6 separate regions of the Homo sapiens genome follow, and regions 2, 3, 4, 5 and 6 are each linked to region 1. The links are contacts of gene promoters, found by promoter capture Hi-C in blood cells and fetal thymus (Javierre and others, 2016). All regions are on one chromosome and are shown on one strand. The core of a region is centred on a gene start or on the middle of the fragment in contact, and the rest is flanking DNA. Distances in the headings are between cores, read along the strand shown. Region 1 holds the start of OR5I1 (olfactory receptor family 5 subfamily I member 1). Region 2 holds the start of OR5AP2 (olfactory receptor family 5 subfamily AP member 2). Region 3 has its middle 19 kb from the start of OR9G4. Region 4 has its middle 9.4 kb from the start of OR5M1. Region 5 holds the start of MIR6128 (microRNA 6128). Region 6 has its middle 21 kb from the start of MIR6128.

Region 1 (4,472 bases), core at 848-3,347:
TAAAATGATACATGCTTGCATAACTGTAAACTTTCATATTTCCATTTCATAGCTTGTAAACAGTTATCATACATAATAATGATTTGCAGCACACAATATTAGTTACAGAAATACATTTTGTAATAATACACATACTTCTACACATCCTTCAATTAGAATTTTCAAACACACATTTCATGCATGGTTTTCTACCACAGTACTGGATTGATCTCCCTATGAGGATACAATTACGATAGTGTAATAAATTAGAGATAGTATTCTTTTTCTGAGATTCCAGCAAAGAACGTTCCTCACATTCAGTAACACATTGGTGTATTTAAAAACAAGAGATAGTAAAACAAATATTTTGCATTGCAATTAACCTATATTGCTCAAGCCACTAAGAAAATGTTTCCAAATTGCTTTATGATACATTGGATGTAGAAAGTTATCAACATGTTATCACCTGCATTTTAAAAAATATTATTTGGCTTTTTATGATTGCTTTTCTAACATTCTAGCCTCTATCATCTTATTTTATTACATGCATTTTAATTAGTGTGAGATATTATAAAAACATATCTTATAACAAACATGTAAGTGTATATAATGTCCAGGCACTATTCTCAGCTCTTAACTGTATTAACTCTGTTCACCATCAAACAATCAATAGCATATGTGCAATATTCATCCCATTTTACAGATAAATGAGGCATAGAAAAATTAAGCAACTCATTCAATATGCCACTCACTAGCCAAGTATAGATCTGGCATATAAATCAAAGCAATCTGACTTATTTTCTTATCCAGTTATCCAGTAATCTACACTTATAACTGAGATATTCTACAGATAGATACGCACATGTACATGCATGCATACTTTTCTGAAATATTTACTATATCCCTTAAGATGGCTTGATGAAATTGATTTTAGCATAAATCTCAAGCTAGTAATAACTGAAAAGTAGTATAACTAGCATTTAGCAGGAACTTTGAAACTTTTAAATGATTTTAAAAATATTTTAGGACTATGAAATTCATTTGGCTGCATTAAACAAAGTGCTTGATAAAATCCCTAGTGTGAGAGGTTGTGTGTGTGTACAGGTAAGGTTGTTGTAAGTTCCCAATTACAGTATGTGATTGAGAAATTAGATGTATCTTGAGATGCTTTATCTCATGAAGAATCTACCTTTGATCTTAGAACTTTCTCAGCTGCATCCTTTACATCTTTATTTCTCAAACTATAAATCAACGGATTCAGCACTGGAATGAAAATGGTGTAGAACACTGAGATAATTTTATCAGTGTTTGGAGAATACAGGTAGCTGGGCCGTGAGTAAATAAAGAGGAGAGTCCCTTGGTAGATCGTCACTGAAGTCAGGTGAGAGGCGCATGTAGAAAAGGTCTTCTTCCTCCCACTGAAAGAGCGGATCTTTAAGACTGAGAGAAGAATGAAAAAGTAGGAGATGATGATGATGATAAAACAAATGATTTCCACTGAGCTGCCGTATGTGGAGAGGAGCCACTCATTAATTGTTGTGTCAGTGCAGGATAGTTTAAGCAGGGGAGGGAGGTCACAGAAAAAATGATTAATAACATTTTTGTCACAATATTTCAGAATAAAGGCAAAGGATGTGTGAACCAGGGAACTCATGTTGCCTCCAAGGTATGACAAGACAATCAACCGCATACAGATGCCCCTAGACATCACAACTGTGTACAATAAAGGGTTACAGATGGCGACATAGCGATCATAGGCCATGGCGGCCAGGATGAAGGATTCTGTATCTGCAAAAGTACAGAAAAAATAAAACTGCAGGGCACACCCATAATAGGAAATAGATTTGTTCTCCGAGAGGAAATTGACCAGCATTTTGGGAACAATGTCTGAGAAATAGCAAAGGTCTACAAATGATAGGTTGCTAAGGAAAAAATACATGGGGGTTTGAAGGTGAGGATCAATCCTGATCAACAGCATCAATCCAATGTTCCCTATCAGAATTATAGCATACAATGTCAGAAACATGAGGAACAGGACAATCTGCAGTTCAGGGCGAGTTGGAAAACCTAATAGAATAAACTCAGTGACCAACGTGTAGTTTCTATCTGTAAATTCCATCTTCTGTGTTGTTTTCCTTTTATGAGAATTTCTAATACCCTACAATGCTATAATGATGAAAAAAGAAAAATAATTAGATGTAATTATAAAGTTATTTTATTGTTTAAAAATAAATAAATGGCAATAAGATAAAGAAAGCAAGCTCAAACTTTTTTGAACTATAAACTCTGAGAAATATATTTCAGAATTTAGTAATATCATATTTCATGGTTGCAGGTTATATTTTATTTGATTACTATTTCTTCCATTGAACAGTTGACTTCCTATGTGCATGGATCATGTCTGATTTGGCTTACCATTTTGCACCCAAAATATTAAACAATTACTGGCCCAGAGTATTAAAAAAGTAATAAATTAATGAACAGACTGATGATCACATTAAGTAAAGAAAATATGTATATTATTAAAAATGGACTGACTTATAGAGTGTTCCTTTGAATAAGAATTTTAGAACATCTGCTTCTTGTTTTCAGGATTTGATAGATACCGGTATGCTGTGTCTCTTGACTGAGTAAATAGAGTGGTGTGATGAAATATGCCGGCTAATTTTTTTTTTACTGTAAAGCAGAAGCTTTAGCGAAATAAAAACAAATGTCAGTAAATACCAGCTCTGAGGATATTTTTGACAGAAAAGAGCTTAGTGTAATTCCATAAACCCTGTTCACATACTAAACTAAGCTGATAAAATTAGTTAACTACTTGTTTCAATACTTCTGGCATTTATCGAACTCCTTGGCTTCCTGGAAATGCTCATTAAACATTAGTGGACTGACCAAGTACAGTCAGCAAAACATTTAGTTATATGTTAACTTGCAATTAAATAACATTACTATATATGGCATCATCACTGATTAAATTTTATAAGTAAAGAACAATTGTTGCATTTATTGTTATGGTAGTATAATACAAAGTGTTGAGTCAGAAAAATCTGTTAAACACTGCTTCTGAGGTCTCAAAATACTTACAGAATTATAAAAATTTTTAACTTGACTTTGAAGTACAAATAATTTGATTTTGACCATGAAGGATAGACTTGGAAATACGTAAAAAACAAAACAACAACAAAAAAAAGCAAGCAAAGCATCAATCTCTAAAGTTCATGTTGAGAGGGCCAAGATGGGAATTAAAAATATTTGAGTCACTGCCTCATTTACATAATAGATATTATGACAATGACAGTGCTAAAGACAATTTATTTATCTCATGTAAGCAATAAAACTACCCAATGACATAAACACTGAGAAGCCTATTGATAATCAGAAGGGTTAATCACGTGCTCAAAGTGCTGCCTTATGTTATCACCTCAAAGCGTGTGAATGAGATGCAGCACTACAGCAGGACAGTGGTTATTCTCATTTTGCTTGTTTGAAAATAGTCAAGGTATTTAGACAATATAAGACATCACTTCGATTTAGGAGGAATTTGATTAGATGCCCATCTTGGCTGCATGGGGGCTGTGTGACCTTGTGCCACTTAATATAAATTATCCTAATCTATACTACAACAATGATAATAAATATCTCATAGTGTTTCTGTATGGATTAAATAGGGAAAATGTTCTGCCCCCCCTTTCTGTCCCTTTATCTACCTACTTATCTTTCCATGTGTCATTCTTTAGGGAGACTGACATACAGTAGATAACATCAAAAATTAGTTTTGATTGCCACGCTGCCATTTTATTCTTAGATTATGACTAGAGCTACCTGTCAAATTTTACTAACAATAATTGTCACCTGTATAATGCTTACTATGTGTAATGCAATATTCTTAACACTTCACCTATAACTCATTTAATTGTCACCAAAAAACTAACAAAATTACCATGGAGTTACTATCATTATGATCTTTTTCTTACAGATGAAGGAAACTAAGAAAGAGAGAATTTGAGATTTAGGATGTGATGGAAACAGGATTAGAACCCAAAATTCTGACTCCAAAGCCACATGATACACTGGTTCTCTATAAACAGGATTCTTTTTATTAGCTCCATATTTTGGATGAGAACATTAATGCTTAGGATAGTATCTCAAGGTCATTCAACATGTAGTTGACCAGTGCAATTCAAACTCAGGGGTGTATGAAATCAAAGCCCATGAAAGCAAGCATGAGGACGGGGAGAATATTAACAGTATGACCATTCTATGGTTCGCATACTTCCCAAAAATGTGGGGCATGTATTCTTGGCAACTTCACATTGGTCATTCCTTCTGATAGTCAAAAAATTCTATTTAGAGAAATATTAAAAGGAAGAGAAGAGGCATGAGGATAGTGGTAGGAAAAGACAGTGATTCTTGGATTCTTCTTTTTAAAAGGGAATTAACAAATAAATCTTACTAACATACTATGATTCAATAAGTTCTTTCCAAACATAACA
Region 2 (4,758 bases), core at 1,823-4,322, 710 kb after region 1:
CGAAATCTCAGCTGGGTAATGAGTGAAATGCGGACATAAGACAGTGGTGAATAATGATAAAGTACAACTATCCTTAGAGTGGTGATTTAAGACAAAAGTTAAGGGATAAATATGATAGCAGATAAACCAGAATAAAAGTAAATATGAAGGAGAATGAAAGTTCTGATACAGTTTTGGATGTGTTTCAGAGAAACCTCAGTTAACAATTGAAAGTGGAAGTTATTGGAATATGACATGAAAGGGCTCTTGCAGGTGGTTAGGAGGAAACAGTTCTTCTTTTGTGGTCTCTAATGAATATTTTATTTATTTATTTATTTATTTATTTATTTATTTGAGACGGAGTCTCGCTCTGTTACCCAGACTGGAGTGCAGTGGCGTGATCTCGGCTCACTGCAACCTCTGCCTCCTGGATTCAAGCTATTATCCTGCCTCAGCCCCCCGAGTAGCTGGGACTACAGGCACCTGCCACCATGCGCAGGTAATTTTTGTACTTTTAGTAGAGACGGGGTTTCACCATATTGGCCAGGCTGGTCTCGAACTCCTGACCTTGTGATCCGCCCACCTCAGCCTCCCAAAGTGCTGGGATTACAGGCGTGAGCCACCACACCCAGCCTCCAATGAATTTTTTAAGAATGAGGTGGTCTCAGTTGGAACACTGAAAACACTGGTGTCTCCCTCCTGGTCTACAGTGGATGGCGGAATAGAAAGAAATTAGAACTAGACATTTACCTAACTCCAAATCATTACACAGACTTCCTTCAACATGTCATCTCATCACAGAAGGCTGTTGTCTCATTGCTCCAACATTGAGAGTTTCCTCCTCACTATGATAAGCAATACAGATACAATTTTCTTTGATAAGTATTTATTGAAAATTATGTGAACCTTTAGGAAGAGCAGAGATAAAACGTTGAAGTACATTGATTACTACCAACAAAATATTCAGTTTAATTCAAAAGTCAGTAAAATATTCCCCCATTATTCTTGTGGTTCCCACAATATCATAATACCTGATAAGACTTATTCATCTATCTGATTTGGTACCTCTTGACATACTTGTAGGTAGAGTAGTGTTATTATTTATTATGAATGCTGTGGCACACTACCCAGATTTTTTTTTTTTTTTTTTTTTTTGAGACGGAGTCTCGCTCTGTCGCCCAGGCTGGAGTGCAGTGGCGGGATCTCGGCTCACTGCAAGCTCCGCCTCCCGGGTTCACGCCATTCTCCTGCCTCAGCCTCCCAAGTAGCTGGGACTACAGGCGCCCGCCACTACGCCCGGCTAATTTTTTGTATTTTTAGTAGAGACGGGGTTTCACCGTTTTAGCCGGGATGGTCTCGATCTCCTGACCTCGTGATCCGCCCGCCTCGGCCTCCCAAAGTGCTGGGATTACAGGCGTGAGCCACCGCGCCCGGCCCACACTACCCAGATTTGCCTCTCAGGTTGAAGTATTCATTTCCCCAGCTTCCAGGCATATAGGCCACTGACAGCTGATAGCTGACCTACACTCCAGGAATTTCCCCTGCTGAAGGGAATTGCCTTGTCCAAGATAATATTACCCCCTCTCAGTGGGTGATCATGTCCAAAAATTGGCTATTGTGGAGGTACAAATACTTGTTCCTTTTTTCTTAATTTGGGACATCTCTGAAGGACATCTCTGCAGAACGCCATGTAACAGTGGCTCAGTCTTCGTCACAATTCAACTCCTTCTGTCCAATCCTGCTCCCCTCACTATATATTGTTTGTGAGAACACTCTGATAAACTTTCTGCCTAAAAATATCTCTCTGTCTCAGTTTGTTTGCCCAGAACCCAAAGACACCAATGTTTGTATAATAAAACTCAGACTGAGATAAGCTTAATATTTAAATTAAAACTTAAGTCCAGATTAGCCAATTCCAAGTGTTTTGATACTTTTTCCAGTCCCAACCTTCATCTAGTGTATTGGTGCATCAAAGGGACCCGTGTGTGTGTGTGTATATATATATGAGATACTAGGATATTAAAAAGTATACTTCATTTTAAATTATCTACTTTAACACAGAGAAACAGCTTAAACAATCAGAGAATACAGTTAACATGAAAATGTATTTTCTTCTACGTAACAAATGATGGGTAACATGGCTCTACAAGATGTGTTTCCATAAGATCTTCTTTAGGGCCTTTTTTACATCCTTATTTTTTAAACTATAGATGAGGGGATTTAGCACAGGGATTATTACTGTATAAAAGACAGAGACAACCTTGTCTTGCTCCATTGAGTAGCTAGATGTAGGGCGCAAGTACATGAAGAGGATTGTTCCAAAGAATATGGTGACAGCCATGAGGTAAGAGGCACAGGTGGAGAAGGCTTTGTGCCTGCCCTCTAACGAAGGCATCTTCAAGACGGCAATGAAGATACACAGGTAGGAAATGAGGACAATCATAACACAGCTGATGACAATAAAACTTGAGAATGCCATGATCACAATGCCATTGAAGTGGGTATCAGAGCAAGAGAGTTTGAGCAGTGGCGGGGTGTCACAGTAGAAATGGTTGATCCTATTAGAACCACAAAAGGACAACCTAAAAGTCATCCCTGTATGTATGGCTGCATTTCCACAACCTGCTAAGAAGGAGGTAGCTATTAGCAAAAAGCAAATTCTCCCAGACACGAGAACTGGGTAGAGCAGGGGGTTCCAAATGGCTGCATAGCGGTCATATGCCATCATGGCCAACAGGAAGCACTCAGTCCCCAGGAAGGAGCCAAAGAAGTAGAACTGGGCAGCACATCCATGAAAAGAAATGGCCTTATTCTCAGCCATGAGGTTCACCAGCATCTTGGGAGTGACGGAAGAAGAGTAAGAGGCATCTACAAAAGAGAGGCTACTGAGAAAGAAATACATGGGGGTGTGGAGACAGAGATCAATCTTAATCAATACAATCATCCCCAAATTGCCCACCATGTTTGCCATATAGATCAACAGAAACAATGCAAAGAGGACTCCTTGTAGATCTGGATTGTCGGAAAGTCCTAAGAGGAGAAATTCTGTTACTTCTGTTTGATTTCTGCCTCGAACCTCTTTCATAAGTCTCATCATTTGAGCTGCAATAAGAAAGAAGATGCACAGTGGAATTTAGTCAGATGAATACATGATGGAGCTATAATATATTTTTAGTGAAACAACTTCTAACAGAAGAGCAAAAAGTGAAAAGCATAATAAAAGGTATGTTGGATTTGATGCCAAATCAAAAGACTTGTAGTACTAGATGTGCTGTCTACTAATGACTGAAGCAAGTGATTTAGTGTGTATTAACTATGGTCATTCCTACAGTTAACTCTTTATTGAATAATTAAAATAACTTATTCTTAAGATGTGACTGTCATAATTACTTGTGATAAATAAATTAATTTATATATACTGACATACCCTCCAGACACAACTTCTGGAGAAGGATGATAGAATGAATTCAGGACACTTACAATTCCTCCTCAGTACTAATAGAATGAATAAAAATATTGAAAGTTAATAAAATTAATCTATAGTGCCAGACAAGAAAAATAGTTGGGCTGGGCCTGGTGGCTTACAACTGTAATCCCAGTACTTTGAGAGACCAAGGCAAGGCAGATCACTTGAGCTCAAGAGTTAAAGACCAGCCTGGGCAATGTGGCAAAATCTCCTCTCTGCAATATTTAAAAAAAAAAAAAAAAAAAGCTATGTGTGGTGGCTCATCCCTGTGGTCTCAGCTACTCAGGAGGCTGAGGTGGGAGGATTGCTTGACCCCAGGAGTTTGAGGCTGCACTGAGCTGGGTTTGCACCACTGCACCACTCCAGCCTGTGCAGTAGAGTGAGACGGTGCCAAAAAAAAAAAAAAAAGAGAAAGAAAGAAAGAAGGAAACAAAGAAAGAAAGAAAGAAGGAAGGAAGGAGAGAGAGAAGGAAGGAAGGAAGGAAGGAAGGAAGGAAGGAAGGAAGGAAGGAAGGAAGGAAAAAAGAAAGAAAGGAAAGAAAGAAAGAGAGAAGGAAAGAAAGAGAAAAGAAAGAAAGAAAGAAAAACAGCAGAATCTCTTGGGGTAGAGGAAGAGCTTAAAAATGCCTGGCCAAAGAAGAAAATAGAGAATATTCCCACACAGCCAGTACAGTTCGAACCCCACTCTGATTTTCCATAATAAACATCTACAGAGAACAGAATAGGGTCAGTTAAATAGTAATTTTCCACAATTCATTCCAATATTTAGAGAATCAGATTGTAAGAATGAGTAGGCATCCCCGATAAAAATGGCAGAAGTAGCCAAGCCAGTGAAAATCTCTAATACTCACATTCACAAGTTCTCAAGAGAACCAGAAAACATCAGAAGTAGCACATGCAATTTTTCAGCCACCATACTTAATCAAGGGAATAATTTAATACCAAGTAATCAAAATGGAAATAAGAGTCACCCTTTGCAAGGTGTAATGAAGACAAACATAGGATAAGAAAAGTAAAAGAAATAAAAAAGAAAATTCAGAATAGATGCCCAAACTAGATCTTCCAAATCAAAATGTAAACACCACCAGCGGAATTCTCCTCCAATTTAACGCAAATCCTCCACCCCTTCCATGATCTCAGATTATTAAACAAAAGTTTAAACTTACTAGGCTAACTGTCAAAATATAGCTCAGAAGGTAAGACAGAGTTATATCCTTTGCTACTCACAGAAAAAAGTTATTTGATACTGTTTAAATTAAAACATGGGGTCGGCCGGGCACGGTGGCTCACACCTGTAATCCCAGCACTTTGGG
Region 3 (4,567 bases), core at 931-3,430, 830 kb after region 1:
TTTTGAGATAAGGATGAATATGGTCATGTAAGATACTGGCCAGTTTATAAACATTCGCTCAACAAATCTTACTAAGTGCCTACTCCGTAGCAGGCATTCTGCTAGAGGAATAGTGATGAACAAAAAGAGCTTTCCATCAGCATACAAATTATAGGTGCCCCAAGAAATATCGGAACTAAAATGGAGCAGCTGGCCACCTGGTGTGGAAAGCTCTGGCCGTGGCAGCTTCCTCAGGCACTCCAGAAAGACAACAGAGAAGGTCTGATGCTGAGCTGATGGTCCCCATAGAGGCTAATCCAGCATCCATGGCTCTGCTCTCTGCTTTGCTACAATGTGCATGTTGCAGAAAAGCAATTACCCCGATGGCCCCATTGTGATAAGGGACCATGACGCTGCAGGACATGTACATGTTCCGAGTGTCGGTGGAGATACAGCCAGGCAAAAATTGGTTGATAGGTGGAGCTGATAGTGTCTCCTGGCAAATGCAGCTCCACCTGGACTCCCAAATTCATCTTCATTGTTATTAGATATGTTTGTACCTTTCTTCTGATGTGTCACTTTACTGATGTCTAGGCTGCAGCATGACTAACAACTAGTGAACATTCAGCAAATTAGACATTCATCTGATTTTTAAATACATAATATGTAAGCATTAGATTGCATTTTAAATCCATTTTCATTATAACAAGAAATCTCAACTTTCATTTATCAAAAAGAGAAAATGAAGATTGTTTTTATTTTAGACACATTAAATACATATAAACTAAAGATCATACATATTTATTGTGTACAACTTGATATTTTTATATGCCTATACATTGTGAAATAACACAGTCAAGATAAGTGAAGAACAGCTTTAAATATCATTTCTTTAAGTTGAGTTTCAGCTCCCTTAAAAATTTGAATTCCATAAAACTTAATTTTCAAATTGTGATTAAAAATTATTCATCCAGAATTGTTCATAGTCATTTCAATCATAAAACCTAAGGTAAAAACTGTTGTACTTATGGAAGAAAACTCAAATTTCTCCTTCAAAAATTGGAGAAAATTTGTTTCTAATTTGTATATGAATTAAAATCATCTGATCGGGTGCAGTGGCTCATGCCCGTAATCCCAGCACTTTGGGAGGCCAAGGTGGGCAGATCACCTGGGGTCAGGAGCTCGAGACCAGTCTGGCCAACATGCTGAAACCCTGCCTATACTAAAAATAAAAAAATTACAGGTGGCAGGCGCCTGTAATCCCAGCTATTCGGGAGGCTGAGGCAGCAGAATCACTTGAACCCAGGAGGTGGAGGTTGCAGTGAGCCAAGATTGTGCCATTGCACTCCAGCCTGGGCCACAAGAGCGAAACTCTGTCTTAAAAAAATAATAATAAAATAAAATAAATAAAAAATAGATAAATAAAATCATCTTCCTAATCATTTTATATTTTATATTTTTTGTTACATTATATGTTAAAATTAATGAAATGTCTGAACTAGCTCCATTTAGACACCCTAGTTCTCTCCTAATTCCTCCAGTGTTATGTTCATATATTAAAAATGCTCTTCATTATTTTACCATAACATGAAATATGTTAAGCACCAATAATAATAGCAAACCACTAGTGCTCATTATGTACCAAAGCACTGTGCTAGACCTTTTACAAAAATTAACTGCTTAACTACTATTATTATCACCTTCTCTCTACATAGGAGGTTATGGAAGCTCAGAGAGGTTAAGTAATCTGCCCATCTCCACACAGCTATCAAGTAGCACAGTCAAGATTTGATATATGTGGCTCTAAGGCACATGCTCTTATCCAATACTTAGTATACTGTCTCTCTAAAGCTACATAGAAATAGAATTTCTCAAGCTGCAGTTTGAGTTCTATTACCGGGAAATGAAATCATCTTAGTAGGTTATGACTAGCATTATTTAAAGGAATGCGATACAATAAATACATAAAACATGGTTGTCAAGCTTTTCTATAAAGGCCCATATAGAAAGCATTTTAGGCTTTGCTGGCATACTGTTTATGTGACAACTACTCAGCTCTATTTGTTTCATCCATCCAAACCTGAGGCTAGAGTAACCCCAAAAGTGACTGCAGGGGAGGTCTCAAAAAGGAGTGCCCAAAACCCTCCCAAGATGGGGCCAATTGGGATTCCAAAGATAGAAACACTAAACACCAGGGTGATCCATCCAAAGCATTTATTAGAGAAATTTACAAAGTGCTGCAGCAATCCTCATGACAGATGGCAAGAGAAAGGGAGGTTCTGCTGGGCATATGCCCAATGAATGTGTTGGGTTATGGAATTTATAGGACAGTTTAAAGAATTCATCTCAGGACCAGGGCTAGTTTCTTTTCGTATCTGAGACAACAACCTAAACAAGTGTATCAGTGCCTGGAAATGTCCAAGCTTGAGTTCAAGTATGCAGGGAAAAACATGGAGCTGGTAAGGTCACAAGAGCAATCAAGATACTCCATATTTTTTGGTCAAGACAAAGAAAAAATGGGAAAAATAGAGGAACCCCACACTGCCCTTGTAGTCCCAAAGCATCCAAGGACTATTCATAAATCAGTAGTTGTGGTTTATATATTATTACCTTACATGTGGATACATTTTTGGTTATCACACCTGGAATGAGGGGTGTTAAAGGCATCTAATGCAGAGGGCAGAATGTGGTTAAATGTCTTACAATGCAAAGGATATCCCCACAATTAAGAGTTATCCAGGCCAAAATGTCAGTAGAACTGTTGTTGAGAGATTCTAATATAAAGATGGTTGTGTTCCAGCAAAACTTTTTTTATGGATGCTAAAATCTAAATTACAAATAATTTTCATGAGTCATAAAATATTCTCCTTTTGACTGTTTCCAATCATTTAAGAATGTAAAAACCATTCCTGACTTGCAAGTTGTACAAACACAGGTGTCAAGCTGGATTTGATACACAAATCATAGTCTGCTGATTTCTGAAGCAGAATATTTAAAGTGTATTGAAGGAGTAAAACTAAGTATATTTTGTGGAACTCTTCTTCCAGTTGTATATTTGTATGACTCTACTGGGTCTTTCTATATTTCCTTCTGTGGGACATGTTTGAAAGATAGCGATTGGGAGAAATGATTCTTTTGTAAGAAAGAATTTAGATAGCAATATCCCTCTAAATTGTGGCCAATTCATTGTGTTCTCCTTGAATTAGATTCTTATTTAAAAATTATGGTTTGAAACTCTACAGGAAGCACCTTTAAATGAAGACAAGACTGTACAGTTTGGCTGAACTCAACCAAGACTTGACTGTGGAGACCCACACGTAATGTTGTTCAAGACTAAATCACTAAACCTTTGGCAAAATAATCTATGAATTGACTCCTTTGTTCTGATGAGACTTGTCTTTCTGAAGCCCATGGAGCAATCTACCTGTAGGCTCAGGGTAAGCCATGTCATAGCTCCAAAATGTTCCCAGAATTACATGTTTTTCTCTTATTATACCCAGTCTTTAATAAAGACTCATTAGAAGTTGCAGACTGGCCTCAACTATGCTGTGGGTGGCTCTGGATAAGATAGGCTGGTTTGCAGGTTTGGGAAGAAATGGCAGAGGGAAGACTAGCCACAGCAGGGAAGCAGAAGAAACTTGCAGCAATTAGTCCTGGAGCCTGTCAGTGGAGCAGAAGCAGCCAGAGGCAATCAAGGAGGCAGGAGAGCACCAGCACTCATTGTTTCCCCTGGAATACCCTGAACTCCATGGAGAAGAGACACTGGTACAGTTGCATTTCTTGCAGCCCAGAAGAATGAGAACTGGAGTCTATTATAATTTGACATTAAAGGAAAAAGCATGTCATTTTAAGCTATAAGCTAAAATATCCAGGGGATGCTTGGGTTATGCACAGACTCAGCAACAAACACGTCCCTGAATAAGAGGTGCCACCCCATCTTACTCCCCATTTGGAGTTCTTTCCATTGGACAAGTTATTTGTAATGAAATTACTGAGTCCAACTACAGAAGCATTTTAAAGCCTCTTGATAGATATTTACAAATTTATTTTGCCATTTACAAGAACAAAGTGCATTTTACTTACCAAGCTGTGAGATATTTTCCAATGTTTGGTTTAAGCATTTTCTCTGGACATTTTAGTCAGAACTGTTCTCATATATCTATGAGCCCTTTGCAAAAATAGTAAGAAAACTTCCAGGTATGTATTTTCTACAAATATTTTCCCACATTTTAAATTGATTTTTAATTTTTTGACCATGGAAGTTTTATGATATATGGTCAAACCTATCTAGCATGTTTTTTCTACACCCCTTTTAAGCCTAGAAAATACACCAGTACCCCCATATGTTTTGCTAGTATTATGCTTATCTTTACCATTGGTTATCTGAGTCATTTTTCAGAGCAAATATTGACTAAATTCTTTCTTCCTCATGCCCTTCTCATTCCTTTTCTTTAAGAAACAAAAATTTTAAAGATCTATTTTTAAGTGGTAAAGCTTCTCTCTATCACTTCTCAAAACTCAATTTATTTTACCTTAAGTGACAGGAAAGATTTACATTCCTATCGTGTTCTTTCTTTCCCTACATAAC
Region 4 (4,956 bases), core at 499-2,998, 690 kb after region 1:
AAAAAGAAGGGGCTGAAGCTCAGCTCGATTTAAAGAAAAGGAAATTAAAATGCATTTAGGTTTGTCATTTATGCATTAACCCAGTGGTGTCACCTGATATTTCTTCCTCTTCTCTCAAATTTGTAAATACATGTGTCATTAAGAAATAGCCTAGTAAGCATGAGATTGATGTTTTAACATCAAAAATAATGTAGAATTTCTTACATACGAAGGCAGTTATATTTAAAATGGTTTTCTGTGGTTCTTTTCTGCAAGTCTTTTGATAGTTAAAGAGCCTTATCTTTTATTATTTTGCAAGTCTTTATTATATGTGTTCACTTAGACTTCTCTTGAACCCATGGTTGTAAACATTGCTTTTATTTGAAATTGTAATTCTTTGTTTAACAACACAACTTTGAGTGTGGCATGTAATGTATCAGCCCTTGAAACTCATCTATTTTTATCACAACTGAATGTGCTTAGGAAAGTGGAACTGCTCCATGGTACGTATCTGTATAGAACTAGGATCTCTTTGCCTACCTATCTGACTCTGGAGCCCAGGCTGTTGCGTCCCAGTCTGTTGTTGAATCCTCCATAGTCTGGTGAATGTAGATGTATTTTCCCTTTTCCCCGTTCCATTGCAATCTACTTATTATATCAATCTGCTTATTATATCATTTGCTTATTATTATATCATTTGCTTACTATATCTGCATGGCCACTTACATGGGATAAACGTTGTTTACCCTTAAACGTATCATGTCCGTGTCTTTTCTCTCCCCTCGCACTTTCCCCACACAGAACATTTTTGGCGGCACGAACAGGATCCAAAAGCAAAAGCAAAACATGCCATTTTTCGGCCACAAGGACCAGGCTGGAAGCTCGGGGACTTCCCATATCCCGGGATGGGAATGCCCCCAGTTTTCCTCTTTGGCGATTGAATGGTCCAGAGTAACTGGCCTTTGTGAGAATTGGGAATCTAAATTAGTGCATTTTAAACCATTGGCTGTGTGTGAACTTTCAAAGTTCTTTAATGAGTACAATTTATCACCTTAAGTGACGAAACATAATGTTTTCACCAAACACTAAAACATAATTTCTTCCAACATGTTTCATCAAGGTTTGAGAATAGCTTGGCTTTATGACTTAAGTGTTACAAAATGTAAAAAATAACATTGCATTAGAGCTTTCACACATTTCAATAAACCAGGTAGAACGGTGTTTTTCAGAATCACAAAGTAAAGAGTATATGCAGGATTTTATAACTGTAGCAGGAATTTTGTTCACCCTGAAAAGTGTTTCTGTTTGTTCTTCACATGCTAATGGAAACTGGTATGTAAATAATTTGAATGTTTCTCTCTCTTTTCCAAAAAAGACTTATAGTGAACAAAACTTTAATTGTTGCAAAAGCTTGTGTCTATATGTCAGGACCCAATTACATGTTACATGAACTTGTGATCTATGGCTTTCTTTTACAAAGCAGCTTTGGACTTAAAATGGTCAATGATTGAAATAACTCTTTTGGTTTGTCTTTCTCTTTAGGTAAATATCCAGTCATTAAAATTTTAATCCCTTTTTCCGTTCTGTAACTTGCGAGGCCTCTATTGGTAAGGAAGGGAGGCCTAGAAATGCATCCAGTTGCTGCTCTCCGGTCTTTCTTGACCTCTAATCTGCCTGGTGACAGTTTTGCTTTGCTGTCATCCACCATGATAAATGTACCTCAGAGTCATTTCACTCTCTTGGCTGAATATAGCCATAGCCTTCTTATCTTCCCTGATGACCCAGTTGCACCTTGGTTTTAAAGACTTACAGACCTCCCTTAGGTCTGCCCCTTATATCCATTCGGAAATGGCCTGGGAAGTCAGCTGTGTAGGACTCAGCTTCACTGGTGCAATACGTCCAGGTCATCAAATCTTAGCTATTTGCATGTTCACCTACTAGGGACATGCTGGAAGTTTGGAAGTTTAAGTACTGTCTATGCCACATGGAAACTGAAGAAACTGTGGAAATAGCTGTGATCATAGCTGCCCAAATAAGCTAATCCCAAAGTTGACTTTGCTTTAGCTACTCAACAAGTTGATTCAGGGCCAAAGCCTGGGCAAGGGAGATTGGGATAGCTTGTCTCAGAGAAAGCTTCTAAGTTTTTTTGTTGTTGTTGTTCCTCTCCATTCATTAGTGTGTCCAGGCCGAAGAACCAGGACTTGGGTTTGGATTTTCTCTCTGTCATAATCTACATTTTTTAACGTCAAAAATTAACGGTACTAGAGCGCAGGAGAGGAAGATTGTTTTAGCCCTAATGAAAGATATAATACTATTATATTATTTTATTTTTATTTATAATAGTATTATTATGAATCTGACCCAGAAGTAGTAGGACTTTGATTTCAAATGTTAATCTACTTCAGACCCAAAGATTAAACATTATATGAATTAACATATCTCTGCAATCATAAATTATACATATCTTTGTATAAGTAGCCCATGGCAGTAAGTGTACTTGAACTAATTTTGTTTAAACTAATTACCACTGTTCAGTTATTTACTCAATAACCCTTCACCAAATATTAACTGTACACCCAAAGTGTTGTGCAGATTTCCATAGGAATTATCAAGATGAAATTGATGTTAGCTTTATCCTCAGAGCATTTACAATTCATAGGAGTAATAGAATAGTTATAAAAGAAAGCATATATTGCAAGAGTGGCAGAAAAAACCAACAAAGGTTTTCAGAAAAGCAAAAGACTATTTTAGCTGAGGATATAATGTGCAGAGTCACGGCAAAAGTCTTTTGATTACCAAGAATGGAACACCTTTCTATCTGCTCTAGAATTAATCCCAACATCAAAATCTGTACCAAGTGTTTTTGCATTTACTGAAAGATACTATGTACATCTAAATTAGGATTCTATCCATTATGATGTGACTTTTGTAAACGCCTCCAGAGGGAGCCCTAATGATATCCTGTGGGTTTCTTATCTAATGCTTCAGGAATGAGTCTACCGAGATTAGTCATTCAGTATAAATCCTCCCACACTGGGGACTTTTGAGTAGGATAAGAAATTACTATTCCTTCACAAGTAAGTCTGACAGTTCTGAGAATCAAGAACTCATAAGAAATTTGTGTGATTTCCTATTTCCTCTTTTGAACATAAAATGAAATTAGTAGTGGCCATAAGAATTGTCATGGTAAAACAAAACCATAGACAGACAGGCCTCAGACTCTCTGATGAAGACAACAGGTAACTAGTGATATACGAGGAGGTCAGGCAGGCTCTGCAAATAGCCCTCTCATTAGTTACAGATCCATTATTCATGACACAGCTGAGACTTAGAGTAGGCTTACAAGTTGAGTTTTAGTCAAATCTTGGAATTCAAAAACATACATTTTTCCACTAACTTGTTTACCTTCTCCAGAACTAGAGCCTTAGAATTTGGCACAAGAAAATATACTCTTCTATGTCTTTAATTACTTAATACAATTATTACTAAGAGGAGAGTGTCAAGAGAATTGGATAAAAATGAGGGTAAGGTTAACGGTGAGAAGGAAAAAAAAAAGTGAACACATTTCCATCGTCATTTCTAGGAGCTTTTCTTAGGTTTCTTCAATTCGGTTTTGCATTGGAATATGATGGCAATGCTGTGTCTGAGCTCACGCTTGTAATCCCAGCATTTGGTGAGACCGAGGTGGGTGGATCACCTGAGGTCAGGAGTTCGAGACCAGCCGGGCCAACATAGCGAAACCTTATCTCTACCAAAAGTAACAAAAAAAATTAGCTGGGCGTGGTGGTGGGCACCTTTAATCCCAGCTATTCGGGGGCTGAGGCAGGAGAATCACTTGAACCAGGGAGGCAGGGGTTGCAGTGACCCGAGATGGTGCCGCTGCATTCCAGCCTGGGCAACAAGAGAGAAACTTCATCTCAAAAAAAATAAATACATAAAAGAAAAAGAAAAATAGGTTTGCATTATTTTGTTCCAAGAGAATACATTTTTCTGTCCTTTGCCAACACTGCTATGGATTTATGGAGCTTTCACCTGATGTGTCCCACTTGGCAGAATTTTTCAGAAAATACTCTGCATGGCTTGAAGTTGTGTTTTTTCCTCCTGCATTGTACACAGAGCTTTAACTCTTCCCTGCCCTAAGCATAGTTTGGTTTCTTTCCAATAGTTCCATTATTTAAAATAGAATAATTTCATATATTTAATGATTATTCTCTTTATTCTTCCCATTTTCTTACTCATCTCTCTCCTGACGTGACAGAACACCACTGAATGAAAAGTGAAAGCTGTTGGAATTTTCAACAATATGAGATATGTCCATCTGGTGTTGGCCCATGTTACTGTGGGTTATGGTATGTGATGTGTGAATGAAAATATCTTAGACGTCATTCACCACAAACCATCTGCAATGGCATTTTTAAAAGTGTGAACATTTTACTGGGAATTATAACATAGCCCTTTTTTCCCATTCCCCACATTAGCTCATAACTTGAAACATAACTATGTCAAGGTCTACTTTCACAACTGGTGATATATAGGAAACACTCTTTTCATATGTATCCCATAAATCAAACCCTGGGCTGTATGTAATCAACAATTGGATGGTGTAACCCTCTATAATTTCATCCTTTGCCCTCTGTTTCTTGGGTGTGAGAAGACTTGAGATAGGATCATGAAGCCTCTCAGAAAGATTTTCTTTTCTTAAGCTTTCTAGCACCAACAGAATACTGTAAGGGATAACATCAGATAGTGGGATACTTTATTCCAAACCAATGAAGGAAAGTTTTATATGCATTGATGATGGCAAGTTCTATATTTGGGGGCTGGAAAAAAGACTTTGTGGGACAATATCTCAGAATCTACTGTAAGGGGAAAGTGTAAGCTATCGGGGTAAAATCACGTGAAAAAAAATCTTGTTTAATACAAACAGGCCATTTCAGTTGTCTTGTTCAGAGCTTTCAATGTTGTCTGTGCATTACA
Region 5 (4,590 bases), core at 1,745-4,244, 810 kb after region 1:
GATTCAATTGAATACTGATACAGTTTTTAAAATTCAGTATCTCCGATTAATGCAAAATGGAAAAGTAATTATTCTGATATCCTAAAGTGAAATTAAATTTTTACGATGTTCTTTCCCATAATATTGACCCAATTATTTTTCCTACATAGTGACTATTATGGAGATGAAAAGAAAACATAATATGGATCATTGATATTTGCGGGATACACCCCAAATCCTTCTAGTCAAGTACTCAAACAGCTTCCTTTGTGATAGAGGAATAAGAATGTTAAGATTATTTTGATGGAAAGAGGTAGGATGTGTTGGAAAATAAATGCAGCTGAAGAGAAAGTTGAGAAATGTCAAGTAAAGACAAATGAAATGGCTACAACTATTTGTCCTAAATTTTCAAAATTTAATTAATTTTTTAAATGTGCTAATTCCAGCAAATGTTATAACCTTTCCTCAACAAAGTTGCTAACCTCTGAGCTGCAAGCTTGTGATTTGAAAATTGTAACCATTAATCCTTAACTTGCCATCTTCTAAAGGCTACTAAATGAAATATCAACCCAACCTGCCATCACAAGGGGGTTCAGTTATGGAGTTTATATCAGGGTTTAGGGAATTGGGCTCGAGGCCAAGGCTAGTTTCCATGTGGTTAGCAACATGTTTGATTTTTCAGGGTTTCAGGCATCGATCTAAACAAGTTTACCAGTTCTTAGGAATGTTCAAGGCCCAGGCTAGGTTCAGGCCAGGGACAAACATGCAGCTTATGTCTTTTGGTCAGGACAAAGGAAAGAGAAAGGTAACTAGGGAACAGTGGTTACTATTGTTGTTCATTTGTTTTATTTCGTTTGATGTTGTCACATCGCTGTGTGACCTGAGAGAGAGTACTGCGGAGTACTCACTCCTTGTAAGAGAGAAGACTGTTAGGATGATATGCAATTCTAAAGACACATATTTATTCATTAATTTTGAGATAGTTTTTTGTTGTCATTGTTGTTTGTAATCTGAACAACTCTTAAACATCTTCCTAATATTCTCTTTATGTAGAAGGCATGAGTTTTACAAAGATACTCCCTATATGCTCAATTAGAGCTTTCTGAAGAAATTTTGAGGAAATGATTTTCTTAAAATAAATATTTGTAAAATCTTGAGCATATTTCCAGAAGCCTCACCCTTTCAGATATTCTTGTCACCTAGTAAAGATTGCTTACCAAACTTCAAAGTCAAACTATATTCATTAACCCACGTAATTTATTTTGTTCCCCAAGATCTCCCAAAGGGAGCAAACACAATGAAATCTATGAAAGATTTAATGCTGCCAAGGCAAAATACCATATTGCAGAATGCCAAACAACCCAATATTATAAGTTTTAAATATTACTTTGTTTTGTTTACATCATAACAAACGAATAACAAGGAGTCATGTGGTCAATATTTTAATGTTTTAAATATGACTTATTGAACTTAATTGAACTACAGAAATGCAAATGAACACATTTATAAGCCAATAATCTGGAAAATTCAATAACAGCATTTGCAAAGAGAATAACCTTCATGTTTGTGGTTGTATAGTCTGTGTTGCTTTCCTGAAGGCCTCTTTGATATCTTTGTTTCTCAGGCTATAGATGAGAGGGTTGAGCAGTGGGTTGATCACGGTGTAGAACAGAGCAGCTACTTTGTCCCTCTCTAGGGAGTAGGTGGAACTAGGCCTTGAATACATAAACAACAATGATCCATAGAAGAGCATGACTGAGATGAGGTGGGAAGCACAGGTGGAGAATGCCTTGTGTCTTCCTGAAGCTGAGTGGATTCTCAGGATAGCCAGGAGGATGTTGACATAGGAAATCAGGATAGCAAGAATGCTGGAGAGTACTGTGAAGCCCACCACACCAAGCAGGACTTTTTCGTAGACCCTGGTGTTTGTACAGGACATTTTTACCAATGGTGGTGCATCACAGAAAAAGTGGTCAATGATATTTTTACCACAAAAATGCAGGCGGAATGTATTGGCAGTATGGGCTATGGCATTCAAAAATCCTCCTATGTAGGAGCCAGCAACAAGCCCAGTACAGAGGGCGGTGGACATGGTACCTGAATAAAGCAATGGGTTACAAATTGCTGCATGGCGGTCATATGCCATGGCTGCCAGGAGATAGCATTCAGTGTAGGCTACAACACAGGAAAAAAACAGCTGAGCCCCACATCCAGCCAAGGAAATGCGCTTATCTTCTGAGACACAACTGGCCAGGATTTTGGGGGTATACACAGAGGTATACCAGAAATCCAAAAAAGACAGATTGCCAATGAAAAAGTACATAGGTGTATGCAAGTGGGAATCAGTTCGGATTAAGATAACCAAGGTCATGTTTCCTGACAAGGTTATCAAATAGAGCATCAGAAACACTCCAAATAGAATCGGCTGCCACTGGGAATCTGCTGAGAAACCCAACAAGATGAATTCAGTCAGGATGGTGCAATTTCCCACTTCCATGTCCACGGAGGTGAAAGCCTGACTATCATGAGAAGGGAAAATCATCACTTAGTGTTTTTTCTATTCACACAAGTTGACAAGGGTATCAATTAAATCAACAATTACTAAGAAGCTTGTAGATTTTTCTCCCTTACTATCTAGAATTATAGGACTTCAGTCCATGATTTGGAAAAATTACTGGAATTGGAGTCAAAAATAATTTGAAAATTAGGAATTTTATTTATTAACTATTTAATGCAGGACAAGACCCATATTCTCATCAAACATGAAAAAAAAATGAAACTCACAAGGATAACTAATTACTTCTTCTTTTTTTTTTGAGATGGAATCTCACTCTGTCACCCATGCTGGAATACAGTGGCGTGATCTCCATTCACTGCAACTTCTGCCTCCTAGGTTCAAGCAATTCTCCTGCCTCAGCCTCCTGAGTAGCTGGGATTACGGGCACCTACCACCACACCAACTCTACTAAAAATGGTGTTTTACCATGTTGGCCATGCTCGTCTCAAACTCCTGACCTTAGGTGATCCACCCGCCTCAGCCTCCCAAAGTGCTGGGATTACAGGCGTGAGCCATCGCACCTGGCCGACTAGTAACTTCTTGACAGACTGTCTGATTGAATAAATAAAACATACATAAAAATAACACAGCCCAATATTGGGTACATTAGTGGGCACTCAAAAAATTTCACTATCTTTCTATAAGTTATTGAAAACTTCTTACGTGTCAAGTATTTGTATTGTTAAGTATTAGATTATTAAAGTTGCTATTTATATTACAAATATAAATACATTATGACCATGTACCAGTTACTATTCTAAGTCTTATACCTAACCCCTTGAGTCTTGGATGGCTTGGTGGTTTGCTTTGGCCAATAGATTGAAAGATAGGCAGCTCCATGTGGATTCAAAGCCTGGATTTCAAGAAGCTTTTTATGTTTCTCTTCTCACTTTTAAAATCCTACCACCACCATGTAAATAAGCCTGGGTTAGTTTGCTGGATAAGACATCTGGCTGCGCTCACTCTGTCACCCCAGCTGACTGCAAGTTGTCCCCCAAACATGCAGGTGGGGCCCTTCTATATGATCCAGCCTACAGTGGCGCTAAGAGCTACCCACAGACATGAGCACGCCCAGGTGAGAAAAGACAGGTCTGGCATAGGCAGAATTGCCCAAGTGATATGGCATCTGAGTTCAAACCCAGACCTTCTTACTTGGTAGTTCCATAATCTTGGAAAAGTATCTTAACAATTCCCCACCTACGTGTATTTACCTCCAAAAGGGCGAGAAAACATCCATGTTAAGAAAACAGCCCATTTTCTGGACAGAACATCAATCTACAAAATTTTAACTATCATTATTCTGAATGGGAGGATAATTATCTAACTTAATTATAAATTCTGAGCTTGCAAAACATAAATAAATAGACTAAGTTTATACAAATAAGCAATTTCAGCCAGAATAGTGGTATCGTCCAGTATCTTGCTAAAATCCTAGAATTTAATATTTTTGTCAACTATTTCCATGTAACTTGGCAAAGGAGTTATAGGGTTTAGGATTGTGGGGTCCAATATTTGGTACATATCCCTGACACTAATCACTGTATGATTTAGGAAAGTAATACCTCATCTCAGGAACACAATTCACCCATCTGAAAATTTTGGTTGATCCTATTCTCAGCACCAAACTTCCATGATTCCAATTTGCTAAAATCTCTTATAGAAATTGTTACGTGCCAGGTGCGGTGGCTCACACCTGTAATCCCAGCACTTTAGGAGGCTGAGGCAGGAGGATCACTCAAGGCCAGGAGTTCAGAACCAGCCTGACCAACATAGCAAAATCCTGTCTCTACTAAAAATCAGCCAGGCGTGGTGGTACACGGCTGTAATCCCAGCTACTTGGGAGGCTGAGGCAGGAGAATCGCTTGAACCCAGGAGGCAGAGGTTGCAGTGAGCTGAGATTGCACCATTGCACTCCAGCAAGGGTGACAGAGAGATACGCTGTCTCAAAACAAAAAAAAAAAAAGAAGGAAAAACTTTCATGAAACAATAGATAGCCTCACTTGTTGCAATACAGTGTGGCAGAGCAGATTAACAGTCCTTACATACACACGTAT
Region 6 (4,665 bases), core at 554-3,053, 790 kb after region 1:
TAGTCTGGCCTCAAGTGATTCTCCTGCCTTGTCCTCCCAAAGCACTGGGATTACAGGCATGTGCCACCACGCCTGGCCCATAGCACTTGTTTTTCACTATATTTTCCCAAGGACTACAGAAGATAAGAATCATTTTGACTTCCTGTTTGTTTTTTCAGTTGGATGGTAACAGATTTTAATTTCAGCAAATCCAGCTCACCACATAAGATTTATAATCACTATATTCATGCCTTTGTCACAGTAAATTTATCTCTCAATACCTTGCCCTTGATCTGCCCTTCATACTTTGATGCCACTGGTGATCATTTATGTAAATTTGATGTCACAGGATTTCATACATTATTAATGTCTCATTTCTTCCATCACATATTTCTCCACCTAATCTTCAAATACGTAAACAACCCAATCCCTTGTGAATATTTATCTTCTTGGACTACTTCTAGGACCAGTGGTAGTCACAAATCTTGCAAGTAAAGATGGCCATTAAAATTGGTTCATTTGAGCAGGGTTTAATAAAGGGATTACTACAAAGAAACATTTGTGATGTAGGTAATTCCAAGGAAATTCTGGGAATAAGCCTATTTAATGGTTAATTTTAGGTATCAACTTGACTGGATTAAGGCATACCTAGAGAAATAATAAATCATCATTTTAAGGTATGTCTGTGAGGGTGTTTCCAGAGAAAATTGGCATGTGAAATGGAATGGATTAAATGAGGAAGATCTGCAATTAATGCAGGTTGACACCATCCAATCAACTGGGGGCCCAGAGAGAATAAAAACAGAGGACATGTGAATTGGTTTGTCTCTATTCTGGAGCTGGGATATACTCCTCCTCCTGTCCTTGGATATCAGAACTCCAGGCTGTTTAGCTTTTTAACTCCAGGATTTACACCACAAGCCTCTTGGGTTCTCAGCCCTTTGAACTTGGACTGAACCACACTACTGGAATTCTAGGGTCTCCGGTATATAGTCTGCCTTTTGTCGGACTTCTCAGCCTCCTTAATCACGTGAGCCAATTTTCCTAATAAACCCCCTCTTGTAAACCTCTATGTCTGTCTATCTATCTATCTATCTATCTATCTATCTATCTATCTATCTATCTCTCTATCTCCTATTGGTTCTGTCTCTCTGGAGAACGCTTACTAATACACCCTAGAACTAATAACTTCTGAGCACTGTTACCACCTCTATCCTTAATCATACAAGAAGAGAGAGAGGTTATGGGCACTGAAGAAAGAGTTTTGAAAAAGGGTCACCTGTTAGTAGCTATGGTCTAAGGCCATGGATACACCAGTTGTGCCATGTCTGTAGATAAGGAGCCTGGGGGAAACTCTCTGCCTTCACTGTCCTCCCTGCCATTGATAACCATTGGGTAAAGCTATTAAATAGTAAGCAAAGATCCCACTGATGCAAATTAATACAGGTGAACATCCTGGAGCAAAAAAAGGAGTTTAGAAGGATGGAGAATGGATTTGGAGGGAAAAATGAGATACATCCAACATACAACAGAAATATTAGTAAGGAAGTTCGTATGTGTTTTAATATGCAAATATAAACATATGAATATTAATAACACACATAATATATGTGTATACATATTATAGTTAAGCTTCTGCACAACTCAAGGGAGAATGAGAATAAAAATTATAACTAATTACATTTTTCACAAGGGAATCATAGTCTCCAAAATTTTTCCTCCTTTCTCAGTAATAATCCCCAATTCATCAATACAAAATTTAGTTTAATTGCCTTGTTAGCTATTCTCCAAATTGTGAAACCCTGAGGGGTTTCAGGAATCCGTAACCCTGGGAATTCATACTCTGACATAAAAGAATCTGGGAAAGGCAAACTTAAATTCTATTGAGATGATGGTGTTGCTGAGAATTTTAGGTAAGTTGCTTAATTCAAATGTTAAATGTAGATGGAAAATTTTTCTTCTTCCTCATAACCAGTCCAATAACCATTTACATAGTAATATATGATAAGTGCTAAAGAAAGCTTTTCTTTTTTTCTTGAGACAGAGTCTCACTCTGTTGCCCAGGCTGGAGTGCAGTGGAGGTGCCTTCATGGCTCACTGCAACCTCAATCTCCCAAGATCAAGCAATCTTCCCACCTCAGCTTCTGGAGGAGCATGGACTACAGGTACACCCTATCACATCTGGCTAATTTTTTTTTTTTATTTTTTGTAGAAACAAGATTTCACCTTGTCACCCAGTCTCGTTTTGAACTCCTACACTCAGCCTCCCAAAGTGCTGGGATTGCAGGTGTGAGCCACTGCCCCTGTTTTGAAATATATTCATCATCTTCCTGTTTTAATTTCTAAAACTGCTGGCAGCTCACACACAGAAGTAGAATTTCACACTATTAGATTCAAAAAAAAGAGCAATTAACAACACAGAAAATTGCAAGGGAAGAAAAAAAAACAAATGCACAAACAGGCAACGATTAGGAGCCACTAACAAAAGAGATAGTCTTGTTAATATCTCAAGAGCAAGAATGAGAAGAAAGAATTAAATAGAAGATATTATCAGTCTAACGGCCAAAAGACATCAAGAAAAGCTTAACATGTTGCTTTTAAAGTTTGATATTCTTTAAGAAAGTGTGAAGGCATATGGTAATTTTAAGGAAACCTCTAACAATAGAAGCATATCTCTAAATACAAAAAGTTGTATTTTAATAATTTTGGATGAAGAATGCACTTTTAGCTTTTAATATAAAAATATAATATTAGTTAGGAAGGATAGTATGTTAGCTGGTTAGTACTTCCTGCCAGCTATTATAGTCTTCTTGTTCTGATTAAGAAATACAGATGTTGGCTTGTCAAACCATCCTCTCTACCAGTGTACATAAGTAAGTATCCAGGGAAACACAAAGGAAATGTGTGTTTTACCATTTTTTTGTGTGTGTGTGTGTGTGTGTGTCCCAGGGTGTATTATGAGCATTGTTTTTTCCAGTGAGAAGAATTATATACTTTTCTTAACAGTCTCAGAGGTAGCTGAGCTCAATAAAACTCAATTATCTTTTCTGAGTAATGAACCTCAGAGCAAAATATGTGAACGAAGGGATGGAAGAGTCAAAGGGAAAGAGCATCACCCTGGGCTCCCTAAGAATAGTTAGACCTGTGAACTATTGAGCAAAGGCTACTGGTGATGGGATGGAGAAGAGAATGCTGATAGGAGAAGAAAGTACATCAAACTGTCAGTAGGTGATAATATATAAAAATTTAATACATTGAAATATTTTACATAAAAAAACAATCCATCCCAGCATTTTGGAAGGCTGAAGCAGGCAGATCACTTGAGGTCAGCAGTTTGAGACCAACCTGGCCATCATGGTTAAACCTTGTCTCTACTAAAAATACAAAAAAAGTAGCCGAGTGTGGTGGCACATGCCTGTAATCCCAGCTACTGGGGAGGCTGATGCAGGAGAGTCACTTGAGCCTGGGAGGCAGAGGTCTCAGTGAGCTGCCGAGATCGCACCACTGCACTCCAGACTGGGCAACAGAGCGAGACTCTGTCTCAAAAAAAAAAAAAAAAAAAAGCAATCCATTGCTTTACAACACTGTAACATCATTAGTTACGATAAACTAAGCACATTATTTTTCTACCATCATATGAGGAAATTATTATCCCATTTAATAGATAAGAAATAAAATTAAAGCAATTTAAATGAGTTTTCCAAGGTCCCTATTATAGAAATTGTTGCCATTAGGATTCAAATGTAGATCTGTTTATAGATCATCTTATAAAATTTGTAACTTTAAAATTAAAAAGAATAAAATTTATGACTTTAAAATTAAAAAGAATAAAATTTATAACTTTAAAATTAAAAAGAATAAAATTTATAACTTTATGCAGCAAATCTTTACATTTGTTAATTTCTTTTTTTTTTTTTTTGCCAGCACTGTTCTTTATTGTGCTAGTGTGCCACTGTCTTATTTATTTTTTTTTTAATTATACTTTAAGTTTTAGGGTACATGTGCACATTGTGCAGGTTAGTTACATATGTATACATGTGCAATGCTGGTGCGCTGCACCCACTAACTCGTCATCTAGCATTAGGTATACCTCCCAATGCTATCCCTCCCCCCACCCCACAACAGTCCCCAGAATGTGATATTCCTCTTCCTGTGTCCATGAGATCTCATTGTTCAATTCCCACCTATGAGTGAGAATATGCGGTGTTTGGTTTTTTGTTCTTGCGATAGTTTACTGAGAATGATGATTTCCAATTTCATCCATGTGCCTACAAAGGACATGAACTCATCCTTTTCTATGGCTGCATAGTATTCCATGGTGTATATGTGCCACATTTTCTTAATCCAGTCTATCATTGTTGGACATTTGGGTTGGTTCCAAGTCTTTGCTATTGTGAATAATGCCGCAATAAACATACGTGTGCATGTGTCTTTATAGCAGCATGATTTATAGTCCTTTGGTTATATACCCAGTAATGGGATGGCTGGGTCAAATGGTATTTCTAGTTCTAGATCCCTGAGGAATCGCCACACTGACTTCCACAATGGTTGAACTAGTTTACAGTCCCACCAGCAGTGTAAAAGTGTTCCTATTTCTCCACATCCTCTCCAGCACCTGTTGTTTCCTGACTTTTTAATGATTGCCATTCTAACTGGTGTGAGATGGCATCTCATTGTGGTTTTGAT

The links. Contacts are between HindIII fragments. The CHiCAGO score rates a contact against its expected background, and 5 or more counts as called.
Region 2: the fragment with the promoter of OR5AP2 here is called in contact with the fragment with the promoter of OR5I1 in region 1 in 2 of 17 cell types (erythroblasts and megakaryocytes); the score reaches 5.9 in erythroblasts.
Region 3: a contact is called between a fragment that was not itself captured here and the fragment with the promoter of OR5I1 in region 1, in 4 of 17 cell types (M1 macrophages, M0 macrophages, M2 macrophages and 1 more). The highest score is 8.5, in M1 macrophages.
Region 4: a contact is called between a fragment that was not itself captured here and the fragment with the promoter of OR5I1 in region 1, in 1 of 17 cell types (endothelial precursors). The highest score is 5.7, in endothelial precursors.
Region 5: a contact is called between a fragment that was not itself captured here and the fragment with the promoter of OR5I1 in region 1, in 1 of 17 cell types (erythroblasts). The highest score is 5.2, in erythroblasts.
Region 6: a contact is called between a fragment that was not itself captured here and the fragment with the promoter of OR5I1 in region 1, in 2 of 17 cell types (M2 macrophages and endothelial precursors). The highest score is 8.0, in M2 macrophages.

The regions. Positions count from the first base shown.
Region 1 is chr11:55,934,303-55,938,774 of GRCh38, forward strand. OR5I1 (olfactory receptor family 5 subfamily I member 1) reads right to left here and starts at 2,098. Exons shown (of 1, transcript NM_006637.1): 1 at 1,154-2,098. The coding sequence starts at 2,098. The coding sequence ends at 1,154. The HindIII fragment of the contact is 3,136 bases long and covers 1-2,667 here.
Region 2 is chr11:56,639,367-56,644,124 of GRCh38, forward strand. OR5AP2 (olfactory receptor family 5 subfamily AP member 2) reads right to left here and starts at 3,073. Exons shown (of 1, transcript NM_001002925.1): 1 at 2,123-3,073. The coding sequence starts at 3,073. The coding sequence ends at 2,123. The HindIII fragment of the contact is 8,469 bases long and covers 1,852-4,758 here.
Region 3 is chr11:56,765,199-56,769,765 of GRCh38, forward strand. No RefSeq gene overlaps it. Among named protein-coding and RNA genes, the nearest start is that of OR9G4, 19 kb to the left of the region's middle. The HindIII fragment of the contact is 440 bases long and covers 1,961-2,400 here.
Region 4 is chr11:56,621,822-56,626,777 of GRCh38, forward strand. No RefSeq gene overlaps it. Among named protein-coding and RNA genes, the nearest start is that of OR5M1, 9.4 kb to the left of the region's middle. RefSeq lists an enhancer at 2,876-3,555. The HindIII fragment of the contact is 723 bases long and covers 1,388-2,110 here.
Region 5 is chr11:56,741,291-56,745,880 of GRCh38, forward strand. OR9G4 (olfactory receptor family 9 subfamily G member 4) reads right to left here. Exons shown (of 2, transcript NM_001005284.2): 2 at 1-2,498. The coding sequence starts at 2,476. The coding sequence ends at 1,538. It overlaps MIR6128 (microRNA 6128), which reads left to right and starts at 2,583; the gene lies at 2,583-2,691. The HindIII fragment of the contact is 816 bases long and covers 2,587-3,402 here.
Region 6 is chr11:56,720,812-56,725,476 of GRCh38, forward strand. No RefSeq gene overlaps it. Among named protein-coding and RNA genes, the nearest start is that of MIR6128, 21 kb to the right of the region's middle. The HindIII fragment of the contact is 389 bases long and covers 1,610-1,998 here.